3 separate regions of the Homo sapiens genome follow, and regions 1 and 3 are each linked to region 2. Evidence: promoter capture Hi-C in human tissues and cell types (Jung and others, 2019). All regions are on one chromosome and are shown on one strand. The core of a region is centred on a gene start or on the middle of the fragment in contact, and the rest is flanking DNA. Distances in the headings are between cores, read along the strand shown. Region 1 has its middle 64 kb from the start of LINC02125. Region 2 holds the start of GABARAPL2 (GABA type A receptor associated protein like 2). Region 3 overlaps GLG1 (golgi glycoprotein 1).

What was found. Contacts are between HindIII fragments. The study calls those that stand out against the background at their distance.
Region 1: a contact is called between a fragment that was not itself captured here and the fragment with the promoter of GABARAPL2 in region 2, in 1 of the 25 tissues and cell types used here (pancreas).
Region 3: a fragment that was not itself captured here is called in contact with the fragment with the promoter of GABARAPL2 in region 2 in 1 of the 25 tissues and cell types used here (mesenchymal stem cells).

Annotation. Positions count from the first base shown.
Region 1 is chr16:76,568,833-76,572,836 of GRCh38, forward strand. No RefSeq gene overlaps it. Among named protein-coding and RNA genes, the nearest start is that of LINC02125, 64 kb to the right of the region's middle. The HindIII fragment of the contact is 5,663 bases long and covers 1-4,004 here.
Region 2 is chr16:75,564,173-75,568,085 of GRCh38, forward strand. It overlaps GABARAPL2 (GABA type A receptor associated protein like 2), which reads left to right and starts at 2,207. Exons shown (of 4, transcript NM_007285.7): 1 at 2,207-2,348; 2 at 2,680-2,735; 3 at 3,865-3,913. The coding sequence starts at 2,315. RefSeq lists a silencer at 2,270-2,679 and an enhancer at 2,669-3,422. The HindIII fragment of the contact is 9,271 bases long and covers 1-3,913 here.
Region 3 is chr16:74,488,297-74,491,897 of GRCh38, forward strand. GLG1 (golgi glycoprotein 1) reads right to left here. Exons shown (of 26, transcript NM_001145667.2): 8 at 2,705-2,919. Among named protein-coding and RNA genes, the nearest start is that of CLEC18B, 69 kb to the left of the region's middle. The HindIII fragment of the contact is 3,618 bases long and covers 312-3,601 here.

The sequences.
Region 1 (4,004 bases), core at 808-3,307, 1.0 Mb after region 2:
TGATCTTACCATAGTTGAAATTTCATGATGTATGAAACTGATAGAGTGTTGAAATGTTCCTAAAAGTGTCTTTGTAGCAATTTTGCTTTTTCTGTTGGCTTCTGTAATGAAACTGAAGCTTAGGTACAGAAGTTAAGCTATAAGACACAGTAGAAACTTAGAGTTAGTCTTATTCTTGAAATCCACAATTTGAAGGGAAATATTTTTTGAGATATTAATAACATTCTTTTAAAAATTGCTACTAATTTGCCAAAATGAATCTTAGTTACACACATGGAATGATTTATTGCTATACGAATGCATTCCCATTGAAGGAGTGGTTTATGGAGAAGTGTAGAATCTCCTACTGATTTCCAGACAGTTCAGTGGAACCAAGGCAAACTTTAGCCTAATTCACACAGCTTTCAAATACCATCCATTTCTTTAAAACCCAAATACAAATAGTTTGAGCTCCTGTCTTGAGACTTCAGAAAGTTAGATCTTCTAGGTAGGTATCTTCTCTCCCCTAGGCTTTTCTAGAGATCCCAAAAGAATGGTGTCAGATTCAACTAACTCATTTTTGTACTTATAAGTTACTTCAGCCAATTGGCCCACATTAGATTACTTAGTGACCAAACTAGAGTTTAGCTTACCCTTGTTTTTCATGAGCAGCTGCTTCTGGCTGAAGCTCAGGTCTTCCTCTTAATTCACCAGATACAATGATGATGACATCACAGCTTTTAAGATAAAAATTACGGAGGGTTTGAAATAACAGACTATATATGCAGAAAAAGTGCATTCAGTTGGAAATCCATTATCACATTTCCTAGAATCCACCAATCATGCCATTCCAAGGGTTCTCTTACTTAGTCCTCAGTACTTTTGTCCCCCTGCCCAGGTGGCACAATTCTCACCCCCAAGCATAAAGGCCACAGTCCAAAAGAAAGGGCAGTTTCTTGTCAATGCCTGATTTCTTTCTGCCCTAGTGTCAGTGACAATCATACTCTTGGTGGAAACCTCTACTCAGACACAGGATAGGGTCTAGCTCCCAAGACATTGACAGGAAAATCAAAATGTTTGACAGTGCATTTTTTTCCCCAGAGTATAGAATATTCATCCTTGCAGAGTACCAGCTAGAAGATTCTGACATACCCTCTCTTTTACATCCTGTAGACCCACCACTGGGTTGACATGAAGATCAGCCTCATTTTTCTTGCTCTACGCCTTACTCCAGCAATGCATCTTTCTGCGACTCCCCATTGTTGGTGTCTTCCAGCGTTTCACATTTCATGGAAGAGCAATGCTATACACCTAGCTGTGAAAAGTTAAAAACAAGCCAGGAGTCCACGTTCATCGCACTCCCTATGTGATCCATCTCCACAGTCTATTTATTTCTTAACTATATTATAAATCTATCCCATATGTCTTTCTCCAAAAATCCCCATTCAAGATTGCCATCTCTTGGATAGTTCACTGAAGTGGCTGCCTAATTAGCCTATCATATCAGGACTGTAAACTTCTCAACTGATATAGTTTGCATCTGTGTCCTCATCAAATCTCATGTTGAATTGCAATCCCTAATGTTGGAGGTGAGGCCTGGTGGGAGGTGATTGGATCACGGGGCTGTTTCTCCCGAGTGGTTTAACACCACCCTTCTTGGTACTGTCCTTGCCGTAGTGACTGAGTTCTCATTAGATCCAGATGTTTGAAAGTGTGTAGCACCCCCCACCCCCCTCCACACACACACCTTTCTCTGTTGCTGCTCCTACCATGTTAGATGCCTTGCTCCTCCTTTTCCTCCCGCAATGATTGGAAGTTTCCTGAGGTCTCCACAGAAGCAGAAGCCTTTATGCTTCCTGTATAGCCTGCAGAGCTGTGAAGCAATTTAAATCTCTTTTCTTTATAAATTATGCAGTCTCAGATATTTCTTTATAGCAGTGCAAGAACAAACTAATACACCAACATGGCAGCCATTCTCTACTCTGCAAGCCTGTCTTTATGTCATCTCTCCCTCACTATTTCTCTTTAGCACTTTCTCCTTGTTCTTAGGATGAAGGCACAATTTTGTAACACGACTGTAACTAAACCCCATGAGGTCAGGAGATGTGTCTTTTTGTGTCTTACATTCAGTCCCCAGCACTGAGCACAGGGTTAATTGAGTAAATATTGATCAAATAAAGATGAAAGATAAGTTGTTTTCTGTACATATATAATTGAAGGGTCAGTTTCTGGTGTCGCACCTCATAAAAAAGGAAGGAAGTACCGGTGCAAAGAATAAGGAATAATTGATTACTTTCACCTCCAGAACTTGAAGCACCCCGGTTATGCTCAAATGCAACTTCTGCTATTAACAAAACAGATTTACCCCTCCCGCACACCAATCTATTTATCAACAAATACATTAATAAAGTTTAATTAAAGTATCATATATATAATATGATAACATAATTAAGATAAACCTTCTTTTACCTCTCTTACAGGGAAGCAAAAAAGAAAGAAAAAAATAGCCAAACTCATTTAAGAATGTCCTTAATGTGGCCAGGCGTGGTGGCTCACGCCTGTAATCCCAGCACTTTGGGAGGCCAAGGCGGGCGGATTAGGAGGTCAGGAGATCGAGACCATCCTGGCTAACACGGTGAAACCCCGTCTGTACTAAAAACACAAAAGAATTAGCCAGGCGTAGTGGCGGGCACGGTGGCGGGCGCCTGTAGTCCCAGCTACTCGGGAGGCTGAGGCAGGAGAATGGCCTGAGCCCGGGAGGCGGAGCTTGCAGTGAGCCGAGATCGCGCCAATGCACTCTAGCCTGGGCGACAGAGCTACACTCTGTCTCAAAAAAAAAAAAAAAAAAAAAAAAAAAAAAAGGATGTCCTTAATGAAGTTGTAAAAATTATTCATTTAATTAAAGCTTGACCCTTGACTGTAAGTCTTTTCAGTGTTCTGTGTGTTAAAATGGGAAATATACATAAAGTACTTCTGGTGCACCCTGAAGTGTGATGCACAGAAAACTTTGCTCTTCAGTTATAATTCTTATATTGTCCAGCCCTCGTATCTCTTATTTGCTCTTAATAAAATATGCTAGCCTCCATTCCAATTTTTCACATTTTAAGAAAGCGTGCTGTCATAATCAGTTATTTATTTTTGCCTGTTCAGCAGTAATCATGCCACCATGTAGAACTGACAGCTGGTTGCTCAATAATTATTTGATGCAAAACTTTCTTCTTTTGAGTTCATGTAATATATATATATAAACATGTTATATATATAACATGAACATATATATAACATGAACATATATATAACGTGATATATATATATACACAAAGACACACACAGTGGGTTGACAATTACAAACACTGTTATAAGTATTTTCATTAAAAGAAAGAGGGTATAGTTTGAGGATAATAAATTAGGCAGTGCATTTGAATTGGAAAAAATTGGGAGTTTTCAATATCGCAATGGCCTTAGATAAGTCAATGGGTATATCATATTTTCTAATACAGTTCTAATAATAAATTAGGCAGTGCATTTGAATTGGAAAAATTTGGGAGTTTTCAATATTGCAATGGTCTTACATAAGTCCTTGGGTGTATCATATTTTCTAATACAGTTCTGAGAAAGGATAGGTACTCAAGGAAGTGACCATGTTCTCTTGGGAGGCAGCAACCATGGTGACCACTCAGTCAACACAATAAGCCTCAGCCTTCGCATTGTAATTGTGCTCATGCAAGCAAAGCGATCTTCAGTAGGGACTTTCCCTTCTAGACAGCATGCACATCTCATTTTTTTGTTTTTTGTGTTTTTTTTTTGAGACAGTGTCTCGCTCTGTCGCCCAGGCTGGAGTGCAGTGGCATGATCTCGGCTCACTGCAACCTCTGCCTCCTGGATTCACGCCATTCTCCTGCCTCAGCCCCCCGAGTAGCTGGAACTACAGGTGCCCGCCACCACGCCTGGCTAATTTTTTGTATTTTTAGTAGAGACGGGGTTTCACCGTGTTACCCAGGATGGGCTCGATCTCCTGACCTAGT
Region 2 (3,913 bases), core at 957-3,456:
TGCATGGAATTCAAAGCTCAACACAGTTTTGTTCTAGATATCTTTGAATTTGTCTCATAACACACTCTCCTCTCTCATTTATTCAGCTCCAGCCACAGGGGTTCCCTAGAATATGCCAGGCACTTTATCTAATTAGCATTCCATCCCACCACACTCTCTAGTCACCTACTGTGCTTTATTTTTCGAAATAGCACCTATCATTACCTAACATACTTATTTTTTGTCTTATCCCACTAGAATATGTCAGGGGGACAAGAATATCTCATGCTGCCACCCATGAGAATAGGGATGTCATCTGTCTTCTTCACTGTTTTTCCCCAGCACCTAGCACAGAGCTCTTGTATGTAACAATAATTTCTAAGTAGGAAATTCAAAGGATTTTTTCCACTTCATTAAAAACAAACAAACAGATGCAGTGGCTCACACCTGTAATCCTAGCACTTTGGGAGGCCGAGGCGGGCAAATCACTTACTTGAGGTGAGAAGTTCAAGACCAGCCTGGCGAACATGACAAAACCCCATCTCTACCAAAAATACAAAAATTAGCTGGGTGTGGTGGTGTGTCCCTGTAGTCCCAGCTACTCAGGAGGCTGAGGCAGCAGAATCGCTTGAACCCAGGAGGCAGACTGCAGTAAGCCAAGATTGTGCCACTGAACTCCAGCCTGGGTGACAGAGAAAGACCCTGTCTCCAAAAAACAAAAACAAAAACAAAGAAACAAAAAAACCTATTCTAGTTACTCAGACACACAGTCTTAAAATAACAAAAATACTTATAGAATGAAGCTAGATTCCACAGCATCGATCAGGAATTTCCAGTGTAGGAAATGATGAACTACCACATTCAAACATACAGGCTTTACAGGTGCATCAGAATCACAAGCACGTGGCAGGGTTCATGTGCCCAATTAAGTGAATATTCCTGCTACATGTTCAGCAGCTTATAAACAGATGGTGACCCAGACCAGACTGCCTTGATGAGTCTGCTTGGAAAAAAGGCATTACATCACTGATTGGAGAACCTCAAAGCATATGTCCGGGCAGGTGACACACACACAGCTCAGGCTGTGATTGCTAAACCACTCCCACAGCCAAATAAGGAAACCCATCTCATGACCAGCTCTCAGGGGAATTCTCCGAGTCTGACAGTCACCTCTAACTCCTCTGCCAGTTAAAATTAAGGGGTCTGTGATCAGTGATGTTACACTCCTCAAATGTGCATTTTTTTTTGAGGCGGAGTCTTGCTCTGTTGCCCAGGCTGGAGTGCAGTGGTGTGATCTCGGCTCACTGCCACCTCCACCTCCCTGGTTCAAACGATTCTCCTGCCTCAGCCTCCCGAGGAGCTGGGACTACAGGCGCCCACTACCATGCCTGGCTAATTTTTGTATTTTTAGTAGAGACGGGGTTTCACCATGTTGGCCAGGCTGGTCTTCAACTCCTGACCTCAGGTGATCCACCCGCGTCGGCCTCCCAAAGTGTTGGGATTACAGGCGTGAGCCACCGTACCCCGCCTCAAATGTGCATTTGTGATACCTTTTCGTAAATGTTTATTCAAATATTTATTCACGAATAAAGGAAGAAAACGGGATTTGTTTAAATTCAATTTCTAGGTCCAAGACAACCTACTACGGCTGTCCCTAATACGGACCTCCGGGTTGTCCTCAGTGCCGCTTCCAACAGTGTCCTCAAACACCCTCCCCTCCCATAATGAGCCCCCAACCTGTCACCACTCCGAGCAATACTCCCCAAACTGTCAACGCCCTAAACAGCTCCCTTGTTATCGCCAAGCTCTAGAAAGCCCTCCTTATGTCATTCTTACCCCTAAAGACCGTTCTTGTCACCAATTCCCCAGACTTCCCCTATGAACCGCTCTAAGAGCCCTCAGCTATCAGCCACACCCCCAAACAGCCCTCAGTAAGAGCCCTACACTATCAGCCAGACGTTTTCCGCCACCAACGCTCCCGAGACCCCACTCCTGTCACCAGTTCCCCGAACATTCCTGCGAGCAATGTCGCAGATACTGCTCACAGACGTCCCCATAACCAACTTCTTCGCCACCGCAGCCCAGGAGCCCCCAAAGGGGTCCTCCGCGGCCCCGCCCCTTTACGTGCGGCCCCGCCCCTTGGCGTGGCGCCCTGACAAATGGCGCCGGAAGCCCCGCCCCCGGCCGGTTGCTAGGCTCCGACAGCCGGAAGTCCCGCCTGCCGTGTAGTCGCCGCCGTCGCTGCCGCTGCCGCTGCCGCCGTCGTTGTTGTTGTGCTCGGTGCGCTGAGCTCCGCGGCTCCGCGAGCCGGTTCCGTCCCCTTCCCGCCGCCGCCATGAAGTGGATGTTCAAGGAGGACCACTCGCTGGGTAAGCACTTGGTCGTCGGCCCGGCTGCTGGGGGCTGGGGCGGCGGGTGGGCCCCCTCCCCCACTCGGGCGGCCCTGGGCCGAGTGGAGCGGGGCGGATGCCCTGCTGCGGGCTGGAGTCGCCCATGCCCTGGTGCCTCGGGCAGCGGCCCCCTGACCCCATGTCACCCTCCGCGGGCCTTGCTGGGAGCTAGTAGGGGACAGGACCGCGGCCCCGGGGACGCCGGAACCAGGGCCTGGGTTGTACGCAGGGCGCAGGAGGAGGAGGGCCGGGGGCCGGGAACCGACCGGTGGGCAGGCGCGGCCGTCAGCCCCGTTTGTTTCTCCCACAGAACACAGATGCGTGGAGTCCGCGAAGATTCGAGCGAAATATCCCGACAGGGTTCCGGTGAGTGGACTCTCCGCCCCCTCACCTCGCTGTCACCTCTGTCGTCTGGGACCCGTGATAGGCCCCAGGCCATTCAACAGTTGACAAGTTGAGGTTCCAGTCCCAGTTACAGTAGCTGACGGGCCAGACCGGGATGAGGCCGCCCAGGGCCGGGGCGTGAGGGGCTCGGGCTGGTGCTGTTCAGGGTGCCTCAGTGCTGAATCTCCCGATCTAGGCCAGCGAGCCGTCTGCAGCCTCGGGGCTCCCTGGCCAATTATGTAAGGAACGATGTTCTAGGACAGGGCAACAGGTCACTGCCACTTTTGGGAATGGTGGTGGAGGGAGACTGTCATTTTGGTCTTGGAAGTGGTACTTGAGTCTCAGGACGTTCATCTTTTACTTTGTCTCCATCTTTACCTAACTTCTAGCTCCGTTATCTCACCTTGACCCTGTCATCCTTGCCTGACCAAAATAATGTGAAAAGCCGCTGAAAACCCCTTCTGCCATATTTTCTTCTTAGTCAATAATAAATATAATGTTATATTTCTTCCATGGTTGGGGAGATAGTTTTGTAATCGTTATTAATTTTTAATGGACATTAAGGCCTGTTATTGTAGCTCTTTGCTTGTGAATAATTTGTCTGGGGAAAGGAGTAGGAGGGACGGATTTGAAACTTGTTCAGAGAGGAGCAACAGGCCAAATGAAGAACTTGGTTCTTGGCTGGCTAAAATTCCAGGCATTCCAATTAGTCCATCCATTCTTGTCTCCTGTGTTCCTTGGGAACACAGTAGTGTTTCCTGTAGTGTGAAGGTGGATCCATTCTGGGGTCCTGGAGTAACGGGCCATGGATGAAACCCTCCCCAGATATTCTTAGGTCTGCCCAGATAAAATGTGGAAAAGCTTAGTGGTAAGGGCTGCATTTCTCTTACATAATTGACCACAGAAAAGCACTTACTGTTTCCCTGTAACACATTTATATCAATTCTTAACCTCCAGAGCGTGTGGTTTATTAAGCCAAAGACATATTTTCTCCTGCTATGCAGTTCCCCACCCACCTCCTTGCCCACACTCTGTTCATCAGCTCCTCAGCCATGTGAGGCCAGAGCCTCGCTTTAGGAAACACAGTCCTGACCTCTCTTTACTTTCCCAGGTGATTGTGGAAAAGGTCTCAGGCTCTCAGATTGTTGACATTGACAAAC
Region 3 (3,601 bases), core at 871-3,370, 1.1 Mb before region 2:
TTTGGGAGGCCAAAACGGGCAGACTGCTTGAGCCCAGTAGTTTGAGAACAGCCTGGGCAACACGGCGAGACCCCATCACTTAAAAAACAAAACAACAAAAAAGAAATAAAAATAAGCTCCCCCAAAATGAATTACTTTAAAACATTCGTCAATTTGACTGGGGATGGCTACTGTAGTAGAACACTAAGGACATTTTTCTCCCTTTGGATCATTTAGGCCTTCAATTTTTGTGGGCAAAAGCTAAAAACCCTGGGTCCATAAAAATAAAAATAAAGCGCTTCTTCCCTACTTGGCTAAATTTATTTTTTATTTTATTTTAATGTTTTAATTTTTTATTTTTTGAGGTGGAGTCTTGCTCTATTGCCCAGGCTGGAGTGCAGTAGTGTGATCTCAGCTTACTGTAACCTCTGCTTCCCAGGTTCAAGCGATTCTCCTACCTCAGCCTCCCGAGTAGCTGGGACTACAGGTGCATGCCACCACGCCCGGCTAATTTCGTATTTTTCATAGAGACTGAGTTTCACCATGTTGGCCAGGCTGGTCATGAACTCCTGACCTCAAGTGATCTGCCTGCCTTGGCCTCCCAAAGTTCTGGGATTACAGGTGTGAGCCACCATGCCCAGCCTCACTTGGCTAAATTTAATATGGGCAAAACCATATGTTTCACTACTTGAAGCCACCCTCTAGATTTGGAAAGTACTTTTCTTCTGGACACACAGGGTGATGTGGGAAGTACTTATGTATCTTTCAAGCTGAGTCACTAGTTCTTTCAACAAGCTACATTTTAAAAAGCCCTGGGTGTGAATTAGGTGCCTCGAAATAAAGTCAAACCAGTCTATTTTCTTTTTTCTGTATCCCTTACTACAAGTGTAGCCTCAGTAAAAAGACAGGTTTAGGCCGGGCATGGTGGCTTACACCTGTAATCCCAGCACTTTGGGAGGCTGAGGCGGGAAGATCACCTGAGGTCCAGAGTTTGAGACCAGCCTAGCCAACATGATGAAACCCCATCTCTACTAAAAATACAAAAATTAGCTGGGTGTGGTGGTGGGCAACTGTAATCCCAGCTACTCAGGAGGTTGAGGCAGGAGAATCATTTGAACCCGGGAGGTGGATGCTGCTATGAGCAGAGGTTGCGCCATTACACTCCAGCCTGGGCAACAAGAGTGAGACTCTGTCTCAAAAAAAAAAAAGGTAGGTTCATTCCTAACCCCCGCCACAACAACCTTTCTGTGCTGCTTTAAGGATGAAGTGCAAATATAGGCTGTCTCCTGATTCATTTTTGGTCTGGGTCCCAGGACCCACACTGGCACAGAGGTTTCCCAAGGAAGTCACCAGTAACAACTGCACCCTAGAAACAACACTGTGGCAAAATCAAACGGCAGATTCCAGAAGCCTTCCCTCCTGCCCAGGTTGGTATTTTAAAGAAGTTACATTTGTCTGTTTTCCCACCATGGGATGCATAGACACGCATGCGTGCGCACACACACACACAGACACACGTGCACACATGCACTGGTGTCTACTCTGGGTCAAGGTGAGTAACTAAAGCTAAGACATAATTTTACTCCACATCCAAATTCTGTAAAACTGTTGTGTTTCAGACCGCAAAGTTTTGTTTCAGACTGTAAAAATCTGATTTTACACGATTATCAGGAAAATAAAATTCGAGTTGATATCCAGTTTTTAATAAAAATGCTAACTATAAAATAATAGACTGATTGTGGCTTTCTAAAGTTACACTGAGGGAGGAGAGCCTCAAGTTTCTACTATTCTAGGATATAAAGCGAAACTATCTCTTGTGCTCCCCAAAGGAAAGTTCACTGCACAGGGCACACTGGTGCACATGGTACGTTAAGTTGCTCTAAGACTCCTATCCAGTAAAAAGTAATCAACATGGACAACAGGAATGAAAGGGATGTACTAAATCTCTAATACATTAACTTGTGTTTTGTACCTGACCTACAGTTATTCAACTGTTTATAAACGCTAGATCAAGAAGAACTTTATCTCCCCAAGCAAAGTATGCTAACTGTGAGGTTTAGTGATAGAAAAAGGACTCCCACCATGGCACACGTTTACCCATGTAACAAACCTGCACATGTATCCTGGAACTTAACATTAAATTAAATTAAAAAGAAAATGGCTCTTCCATGCATAGTTGCCCTAGTATATGAAGAAAAGATAGTGTGATTTCAAAAATGACATGCTCTCTTGATCCTTCAGGCCAGGAATTCATGCCATGCGGTAAATTAGTAACAGAAAAAATTTAGAAACTTAGAAAAAATTTCAATTCATATCAACTCTTTTTCAGCCTCAACTCAATCAAATCTATTACAACAGGCAAATTCTCTCTTGGTAGAGGGCCTGTCGTCATTGATTGGAACCTGGTTTGCCTTGATTCTGAGTTTAGGAAATCCAGTCTAGCAAGCTGCCCTTTCTTTAGGAACTCTAGCAAATAATGCATTCTATCTATCTAAGAAGACAATTCTTTTTATTGATTATGAGCTCAAACTTTTGCTCTGTAGCAAATGTCACATTCTTACTAAGATATGCCTGAAGAAGCAACGTTCAGTCTCTGATCATTAGTACCTAATGTTCAATGTGATACCACAGATGATCCATATAAAGCAAGGTGGGACAGCATCAGGAAGAGGCTCTTCAGCTGATAAATGTGACATTCAAAATGGCAATAGCAATGTCTCCTTACCGCCTGCTGGCAGTTCATTCCAAGGTTCCCCTTCTCCCCTCGAACTACTTTCATCAGACAGTGTAGGGTCCGCCCTTTTCGATGTAATCCGGAACAATGGTGTTCAATCTCCCCCCGACAGCTTAGGATGATCTCAGGGCTCAGAGAAAAGTCTTCCATCAACATGCGTCGGTAATCCAGCATCTCCCCCTGGCACTCACTGCTGACTTGTCGCCCTAAGTTAGGATGTAAGTCATAACATTACGAAGGGTGATGCTATGTATTAGCATCAGAAATCACCACCTATTAAAAGTACATATTTCTATCTGTAATACAATATACCTATCAGACATGCTAACATCTGAAAAGTTTAGAATTAGCAAAAGCTTTAGCAGCATAAAATAGGCTTAGACTCCAGATATTCAGGCTTCTCCTGTCACTGTTCTGCATGAAACAGGTTTTATACTACTGCACTAATAATGCAAATGCTTTGCCCATGGAAATCCTATCAATAAGATAACTATTAGGGTAAAAATGAAAGCCAAAGAACAATCTCCATTGGCCTACACAATTAAAGCTTTTAGAAAAGACTACATTTAAGATATTCACTATAAGCTCCCCCAACTTCTTTGAGCTGTAAATGCCAATGGGGAAAACTTTTTTTTTTTTTTTTTTTTGAGACGGAGTCTCACTGTGTCACCCAGGCTGGAGTGCAGCGCGCGATCTCGGCTCACTGCAAGCTCCGTCTCTTGGGTTCACGCCATTCTCCTGCCTCAGCCTCTCCAAGTAGCTGGGACTACAGGCGCCTGCCACCACGCCCGGCTAATTTTTTTGTATTTTCAGTAGAGACGGGGTTTCACCGTGGTCTCGATCTCCTGACCTCGTGATCTGCCTACCTCGGCCTCCCAAAGTGCTGGG